2 separate regions of the Homo sapiens genome follow, and region 1 is linked to region 2. The links are contacts of gene promoters, found by promoter capture Hi-C in blood cells and fetal thymus (Javierre and others, 2016). All regions are on one chromosome and are shown on one strand. The core of a region is centred on a gene start or on the middle of the fragment in contact, and the rest is flanking DNA. Distances in the headings are between cores, read along the strand shown.

What was found. Contacts are between HindIII fragments. The CHiCAGO score rates a contact against its expected background, and 5 or more counts as called.
Region 1: the fragment with the promoter of VWA5B2 here is called in contact with the fragment with the promoter of EIF2B5 in region 2 in 1 of 17 cell types (endothelial precursors); the score reaches 5.5 in endothelial precursors.

What each region holds. Positions count from the first base shown.
Region 1 is chr3:184,227,846-184,233,412 of GRCh38, reverse strand. VWA5B2 (von Willebrand factor A domain containing 5B2) reads right to left here and starts at 3,828. Exons shown (of 20, transcript NM_001390846.1): 1 at 3,700-3,828; 2 at 2,746-3,033; 3 at 2,496-2,666; 4 at 16-235. The coding sequence starts at 2,884. RefSeq lists a silencer at 3,721-4,060. The HindIII fragment of the contact is 8,832 bases long and covers 1-4,830 here.
Region 2 is chr3:184,133,866-184,137,183 of GRCh38, reverse strand. It overlaps EIF2B5 (eukaryotic translation initiation factor 2B subunit epsilon), which reads right to left and starts at 1,826. Exons shown (of 16, transcript NM_003907.3): 1 at 1,604-1,826; 2 at 448-572. The coding sequence starts at 1,798. It overlaps EIF2B5-DT (EIF2B5 divergent transcript), which reads left to right and starts at 1,923. Exons shown (of 2, transcript NR_183721.1): 1 at 1,923-2,648; 2 at 2,906-3,318. RefSeq lists enhancers at 1,477-1,546, 1,867-1,926, 2,796-3,318 and a silencer at 1,617-1,726. The HindIII fragment of the contact is 10,653 bases long and covers 1-2,678 here.

The DNA.
Region 1 (5,567 bases), core at 2,579-5,078, 94 kb before region 2:
CACCATAGGCCCAACCTGTCGTCACAGAGCCCCGGAGGCCTGGGGGGCCCCGGCGGGCCTGGCGGGGCCAGCGGGGTGAGCACAGTGGGCAGGGCCACATGCAGCACCCCGTCAGGCCTTGAGGGCAGCTCCCGGCTGCTGTGCAGGGTCACCGTCATGGTGCCAGCCGCGGCGATAATGCCTGTGGGCAGCACCAACGTGGACCGGGCCTGGGCCAGATCCAAGACAAGATGACCTATGATGGGTGAGAAATGGGGTCAGAGCATGCTGGAAGCAGAGGAGAGGGAGGAAGCTAGATGTGGAAGCAGGCATTGGGTCAGGGAGCCTGGGCAAGGGGGACTTTGCGTGTTGGCACTAGGCTAATGCATTGGTGACGCAGGATGGAGGCATGAGATGAATGATGGCAGGAGAGGCAGACTAACTGTGAACAGATCTGGCTGTCATCAGGCAAGAGCAGCAGTGACATCCTTGCTAATGGAAGGCTGAGGAGAAGGGGCCATGTCCACTCTCAAGGCCCTGGGAATACCCACACCCTCTGCCCCTCTCCCCCTGCCTGCCTCTTTCCATTCAACCCTTGGCCACCATCCCTTGTGGATAGACATCTCCCTGTGGCCTGGGACCCCACTCTGCTCATAAATTTCCTGCTCCTGAACCATCAGGAGCTCCCCCATTGCCCACTAAGGTGGCTCCAGAATTCTCTACTCCTCCCGGGCAGGAGGAATAGAGAAGCAGGAAGCAGGCTGGAGGACATAAAGCTCCATTTGCACACTGCACACACTGTTTTATTTAGCTCCTAGGTTTGTTTGGGGACTGGTGGGGCTGCTAAAGGAATAATGACCAGCCATGTACAGTGGCAGCTGTGTACACCACCGACGTGGTCTGGCCCCAGCCCACGTTCACAGCCCTACTGTACCTCACTTCCTCACAATGACCAATTGTTCATCCTTTCAATAAATACTTGCTGAATAACTGAAGGGAAGAAAAAGATGGAAGGAAAGAAAGAAAGGGGCTTCCATCCCAGCCAACCGACACAGTGGAGACAGCACAGCATCAAGTTTTAAATATCAGCTCGGTGACCTCTAATTGAGTCCTTTGGCAGCTCTCTTGTTCTGAGGAGCCTGTTTCCTCATCCATAAAGTGGGGATCATAATAACTCTGTGATTGTGGTGAGGAACAAATGAGGCAATGTATGCAAAGCACCCAACATATAAGTCAGTGACCCCTGCTATGACTTTCATCCCCCATAACAGGAGGAAGGGGGATTATCCCCCTTCCATCCCCCATAACAGGAAGAAGCCTGCATTACCCACTACTTGGGATTCAAATGAGGTGATACTAGCGATTGTAAACTGTAAATCACTATAAACATGAGATATTTTATTGTCATTACCCACTGTAACCTACTTATAAGCATTTGCTTATACTGTTGCCCCTACCTTCCACTTAACTGAGTCCTACCCTTTCTTGCAGTCAAATGCTGGCTCTACCTCCTTCTGGAACATTCCTGGGGCCTCAGCCCAGAGCTCACTCTAGCCTCTAACCACAAGCCCCTAACGTGCTGGGCTTATGCCAGCTCTCAACACCACTGGATTCTGTTCCTCTTCTTCTTACCTGGATTGCAAATCCCCTGGGCAGGAATCAAAGCCATGTATGAATGAATCAATGAAAGAACCAGGTGCAAGCACAGCACACAGCACAGGGCTGGGCTTCTGTCCCTTCCCCGGGCACTCGCTGGGCCTCATAGTGCCAGGTTCTGTGTGAGGTGCTGGGATTTGGAGATGCTCCAGCGGGGAGACAGACAGGCAGATCTGTGACAATGACTCCCCCTGTAAGTGCCATAACGAGGGGGCACAAAAGGCTGGGGAGCCAGGAAACAGTGCAGCTATTTGTGGGAGAGTCAGGGAGGGTTTCCCTAGGAATGACGTTTAGTGGATCTTAAAGGACAAGTAGGAATTTGCTCAATAGAAGATGGAAAGACAGAGCAGAGAGTTGGGAAAGGACCTGTCAGTCAGTGTGGCCAGCGGCAGCGGTACCTGGTGTATGGGGTCGCTGGGAGAGGGATGGAATGGGGTGAGAGCGAGGGCCTTGGCTGCTAGGCACAGGAGTCTACACTTGATTCACTGGCCCACGCGGGGCCGGATTGAGGTGTGCAGCCTAAAATAGTAAGGGGCCGGAGGGGACCACCAGGGGAGAAGGCTCCCTTTGCAGCCCCCTAGAGAGACCGGTCTCCTGGGCTGTAAGGGTTGCTGGCGCCCCCGCAAGCCCTGTGCTGCCTGCTGTGTCTGTCTCCCAGGCTGTGAACCTCCGGGCCATGTTCTCCCAGCACCTGGCGCAGGTCAGGTGCCCAGCCCACGACTGCTAAATACCAGGATGAGCCAATGAATGCACAAGGCAGTGCCCGGAGGAAGGCGGGGGACGGGCGGAGGCCGAGCGGATGCGGGAGCCTGAGCTGCGCCCGGCTTTCAGGAGCGCGGGTGCGGGCGCGCGGAACTCACCCTGCGCGCAGCGGCGGGGCGTCGGGGTCCCCAGCCCCGGGCCCAGAGCGCGGCAGCAGGCGGCCTGCGAGCGGCGCCGGCTCTGCAGCTGGAAGGAGACGCGCCGTCCGGCGGCCTCGGCCTCGAAGCCGGACACCACCTCGGCCTCGGCCAGCGGGTACACGAACACGCCTGGGGAGGGCGGCGGGAGGCGGCGTCGGACCCTGCCCGGCGCACCCCCCGCCGCGCCCGCGCCCCACCCGGGCCTCACCGTCCACCGGCTGCGGCTGCGGGTTGCGGTAGGTGAGCCGGGCCCGCACGCTGAGGCAGGGGCCGTTGGCGCAGGCCCGGACCCAGGAGTCCGTGAGCGGCAGCGGCGTCCAGCTGGAGGGGCAGTACAGGCCGGGCATGGCGCCGGGAGGCCGGCCCTGCGGGAACGGGCCGGGGAAGCTGGGCGCAGGGTGACGGGACGCCCACCCCGCGCTCCAGAGGCCAGCGCGAGAGTCTCACTCCAGCACCCGGACGGGGCCTGCCGGGGCGCGAGGCCGAGCGGGAGCTCCTGAGGGCGACAGGTGGCGGGGGAGATAAGGGGGCGGCAGGCGTGGTGGCGAGGAGGGCATCCTCACGCGTTACCTGGGCAGCCGGGCCGCGGAGGGTTAATGATTAACGCGCGCTTCGGCGCCCAGCAGTCCCGCCGCGGCTCCCCCGGGGGTGGGGGCGGTCACAGCTGTTCCACCGCCCACTCCCAACCTCGCAGCCACCCCCGTACCTGCCGGCCCCCCGGGGCCCCCCGCGGCCGCCAGCTGTCGGAAGCGGCGCGGGTGGAGATGGAAGATGCTCCGGGAAGGCGGAGGTTTAAAGGGCCCGAATCCCCCCGGAGGCCCCCGGCCCTGCGAGGGATCGCGGGGGCAGGGTGGATGGGGCGCCGAAAGGGCCTTGGTCTTTCTCTCCCTGGTGCCTCATCCGACGGGGGTGCTGGCCGGAGTGGAGGGGTTAAGGGTGGGAAGAACGAGCTGGGAAAGCGAAAAGAGGGGGTCTTTGGGAGGCAAGCCCGGGAGAGGTGTCGGGCCAGGGAGAGTCCGTGGGAGCCGCCAGGTTACCGCTCCCTACCCCGGCAGAGCTGATGTGGGAGGAGGGGGCACCTGCAGTGGCCGCGGCCCGCGCAGGGGATGCCGCGGGCTGGCTCTGGGGATCGCCCCGCTCCCTGTGGCAGTCTCAGCCTCACCGTCGCGCCCTCCGCGGAGTTCTAGGTGCCCACGGGATCCGTGTGGGTGGTGCCGCCTCTGCGCTCCGGGTGGCCCTCGGTCCCGGCACCTGCCGGCCGCCAGTTCGTGACTGTGGCTGCAGCGGCTCTGAGTCCCGGCAGGGGCGCGGGCCCTGCCGGCGGTGGTCCCGCCCCCGTTCCGAGAGGCCGCCCCTCCAGCCTGCCCTGGCCACGCCTGCTGCTGCTGCGGCGGGGCTGGCGCTCCCCCCTCCTTCGGGCGCGGTACCGCCTCCGCGCCAGCCGCGGCAGCCCGAGCCAGACTGGGCACCGCAGTGCAGGGACCGCGTCCCCGCCGCCGCACGGATCCCCGTCACTGCAGGACCGAGGCCTCAGAGACCCCACCCTTTCCATTCTTCAGGAATCAGGCGTCCTGCAAGTGCCACCGACACTGCCGCGACCCCAGCTATCCCATTACCACGACGGCATCCCATTCCCCAGCCCACCCCACCCCCTGCCCTGGGTTGCTTCCCATCGCTGCAGAGACCCTCCCTCCTGACTGCAGCGAACCCCCCAGCCCCCCATCACCGTCACCGCAGGACTCTTCCCCCAAGAAGCTGGCCCCTTTCCTTTGCAAAGTGCTCTTCATCACTGCAGAAAACCTCCCCCATCCCTGCAGGTACTTTTAGTTCATGCAGCCACTTCAGTGACCACTCACTCCAAGCAGGGATTCCTCATCACTGCAGCGACCTCCTCCCACCCCCAAGCAGCCGGCCTTGGCATCGCTGCAGTGCCAACCACTTCTGCTGGGGTGGGAGGGTGTGCACAATAGCGCCCTCAGCCTATAACCCCTTGGTCTCTTCAGCTGTGCGGGCCTTGGGAGTGAAGCCTTCTAGCCTGAAGAGCCTTCTTATGGCTGCAGACCGTCCCCTCATAGCAGTGACCCCCACCCATCACCGCAGCCCTGAAGAGAAAACATCTCTGCTTGTCAGGAGGGCCCCTTGTTATTGGCAGACTTTGCATGTGCTTGACAGTGTTATGCTGTCAAAAAGTAGGAAGGTCCGGAAAACCTCTCCCAGGTCCCCCAAGGAAGAGTCTGAGAGCCCTGGGGAAGTGAGAGGAGATGACCATGTTTGGGGATCATCCATGTAAGCTTTTTGGCAGATGCCATACTGAGATTCTGCAGAGAGAGCTTGAGGAGAGCTGGGGATGGAGGACAGCCAGTAGGAAGTGAGCTTTCGAGTCGGGCCCATGGTTCTCACTCCTCCGCATTAACTCTCTCCTTCTGATTTCAATCACTATCACCAGGGATCATCCCCCCGGGGGATCCCTGCCTCCTTGAGTATCTGAGCCCTCAACCCCAACCATCTCCTTTGCTCACCCTACTTAGCATGGTGGAGAGAGCTTGACCTTTTCCCAGGGAATTTCATGGGTGGAAATGCACAGGAATGATACAGGGAGCACAGACACAGTCACACGTACCCAACACACAGGGAGCTCCAGCTGGGTCCTAGCCCTCTTTCCATACTACCTGGGTCATGGTTCCATTCACCTCTCTCCCCCTTTCTCTACTGAGTCTGTTCTCAGCTTCATCCTGAACGAGGGTCCCTCTTTCAGGCCTAGGGAGAAACAGTGGATGGGCTGATGGTCCCTCCAGGTGATCCAGGGCCTCAGGTAGGACCAGCCCTGGCCCTGAGGGCCTCACAAAGGTCCAGGCAGTGGCCACCTTTCCACAAGCACCTTGTGCTCTGCCCCTTCTACAAATGAACCAAGAGCTACATGTAGCCCTTGGACAAACATGAGGTTGCAAATAGCAGTCATTAGGGAGGTCTCCGACACATGGAAATGGAAAAAGAGGTCCTTCTGTTTGGTCCTGAGGAGAGCTTAGATGT
Region 2 (3,318 bases), core at 577-3,076:
AGATTTCAACAAACATGTAAGTGCTCACTATATGCTTGGGACTGAGCTAGGCAGTGGGAATACAAAGATGACAAGGAGCTCATTTATATCCTTGAAGGTGAGAACAAACAAGATTTAGAAACTCAGTGGGAAAACAAAGATGTTATCATTGTAACTTCCATACTGAAGCCATTAAATAAAAGCAAAGTCCACTGGCACCAAACTTTATAATGAGATTCAGAAAAAACCCAAGTTTATTCTTTAATCTTTGTCACAGAAAACCCAAGACAGACAGATACAAAGTTTCAGCTGCTCACCTCCTGATAAGTGTAGAAAATACCCTTAGAACTTACAATGACATCTAAGTAGACACATTTTTCCCCTCTCACATTTCCCCTTAGTTACATTCATCCTGAAAAAACTGGAAAAAGATGGCGAAACATGGAAAGAAAAGTTGCAGGGCCTTACAGTAAATGTTCTTTGATTTGAGCAGCTTTCCAGCAACAAAAGACAAATGTTTCCTGTACACCTGTGGCAGTCAGGAATTCCAGAGTGTAGTCAATTAATGCCACATTGGCCAGGGGCAAGAGGACCTGAAGGATACAAGATGAAAAAAAACTTGAGGTCTCGAATCCCTTTGGGTACCCCACTGCAACAATTTTCACTCCTCTATTCGTATTTCCAAACAGTGTAATTTTGCTGTATCTTTCCAATTCAAAGATAAACAGGTTCCTGCCTTTGATGTTCATGCCATGCTCTAAGCCTGAGTCTGAGACATTGCAATTTGGGGATGGTAAGTACAGAATCTATGTGCCTTGTATCAGACACAGAGCTGTGACAGAATGGCAGTTCACTGCTGGCAAAGGATAATACTGGAAATCAATCATATTTCCATAAATTTAAGCATTGCTAAGGCCTTCTTCCCCATAAGATTTCCTTCCTTGATCCCTTTCTAAGTGTCAGAGGTTAGCCATCTCCCGTCACTTGTCAAAAATGAACAGCCATTAGGCTTTTTCGAGGGAATTAGAGAGGATTTTCCTTAAATCCAATGCAGTTCCCTCTTTCTGAACTGACTGCTGAACGACCCAGCTGAGTCCAATACCCCATTGTCTAGACAACTCGGGGGCTGATGGCAATCAACCACTAAACCCATTTTGTCCTTTCGACAGATAGCACCGGCTATCATTAGAACCTGGAAGGAAAAAAAAAATACACTGCCTGAGATCTAGCCCGCTCTTTTTAAGGCATATTACCGCCCTTTCAGAGGCAAAAGGTCGTTTCTTTTCACCTAAGCAACCGTCATCGGCAAGGTTAAAAGCGGCGCAGCCTCTTCTAGGGGCACTGAATCCCCGCGTGAAGGCTTCTCTCAAGCGCTGTTTCTACATTTAGCTCTCTTCATTCCTTTCAAACCCGAGGTGGACAGCATTACGAATGCCCAAATCTGCCGGCCACTAACTTGGTCAGCAGTCATCAGGGTTTAGACAGTCCCTCTGCATCCGGTTTTAGGATAACAGCATAGACGCAGGTCCTTCAAGGGCATGCTGTTGTAGTTAGCCGAAATGAGAACTTGCTCCAGCCCTGCCACCCTTCCTGCCCTCTGGCTGCTCGCGTGCGCGGCGCTCACCCGAGGCTGGTCCTTGGAGATGGGGAAGAAGCGGCGATCGAAGCTATCGGCCACCAGAACTGCTTGTAGGGGCGGCGGCGGTTCCTCCTCCGCCCCTCTGGCTCCCCCGCCACCGCTGCCTCCCGGCCCCGCGCCGCTGCGCTTGTTAGCCCGACTAACCACCACACCAGGCGGCGCCACTACAGGGGCCGCCATCTTCTTCTCTCACGGTCACCACTTCCGCAAGGAAGCTGCCACCGCACGCAGTAGGGGACAAAAAGGATCCAGCACTTGAAATGCGATGGACTAATTAACGAAGGGAAGGAGACGAGGAGGGAGCAGTGCGCATGCGTCTTCCCCGGGAGCCCACAGGGGTCTGAGGTTGATCCCGGAGGCGCGAGGAGTCGGTACGGGTCACGGTTGTCCCGGCCCCTGAGGCGCAGGGTAGGAGTGGGGTCCCATAGATGTCAGACTCGGTCTGCAAGTATCGTCGGCCTTCATTTGTAGGTGAACAAGCCGAGATTCTTGTGGCGTGATAGGACTTGTGGTCGCCACGAAGGGGCCAGCTCCATCGGGAATCTGTAATCGCCCAGCAGTTTCCCCGCCCCGCGCATGTGAAATATGTAGCCCTCCGTATTCATTCTAGAAACTTCTGGGAACCCAGCGCCTTGGGGAGATAGAACCGAGCCAGATGTTCCCCCGCTGCGAGGAACTCAGAACCTGCATAAATAGAGAAGGTGGCAGGCATATAGTAGGGAGACCAGTAATTCCATTGAGCGCTGATTTTGGGCCAGGCACGATACAAGCATTATCTCTGCAAAACATCTTATTCATTCGTTCAGCAAACGTTTCTTGAACTCTCAGAAGGATGAAGGAAGTTTACCCAGCTAGTAAGTGGAAGAACTGGTATTGGAACCCGATCTGTCTGACTGCAGAGTTCCACAATCTTGCTGCCAAGTTATGTGGGGATAACAATGACTATTTTATGTCATCTATTCATTCTTCCAGCCTATCAGCCTCCTGTGTCTTAAGCAGAGTGGAGACGGGGGTGGATCCAGGCGCACCAGTAAGTTGTACTGGAGTTAAGCAGTAAGCTTTCTGGGCAGAGGAAAGTGCGGGCGTAAAGGTCCAAGGCTTGAAAAGGCGCAGCAGCACCTTTTTCTCTTTGGGGAAAGAAGCGGTGGCTGCGGGGAATAAACCAACTCTGTAGAGGGGCGGGGCCGTGGGAAAGCGGTGGAACGGGGCAGGAAGGCTGGGCGTCATTTGGGAGGCAAGGAACTTTTCTGTAAGGCATAGCGCCCTTTCTGCACGGGACCTGTCCAGGTTCCACGCCACAGGCTTCTGCAGTTCCTGCAAACTGTTCCCATCCCGCCCCGCGTTGCACGTCGGGATTTGGAGTTCGCGATGCTGAGAGCTGTTTCCACGTGGCGATTCCGACTTGACCCGTCGTGCTCCGGCGCCCGCCTAGGGGGACCGAGGAGTTTGTCATTTCTTGCCTCGTTAGGGTGCGGAACGAAAACCATTTGATTTATCCTAGAAAAGGAAAGGCTGAAGCCAACTAAGTAAAAGTTTTCCATTAAATGAATGCACGTTGTAGAAAAGGAATGTTCAACTGCCCTACAAATCCAGAGGTAGAAATGGGGGAGGGGAGAAGGAATTAAATAGGACACACACACACACACACAAACACACACACACACACACTCTTGGGGGGGTGTTTGGGTATGGAAAGTAGG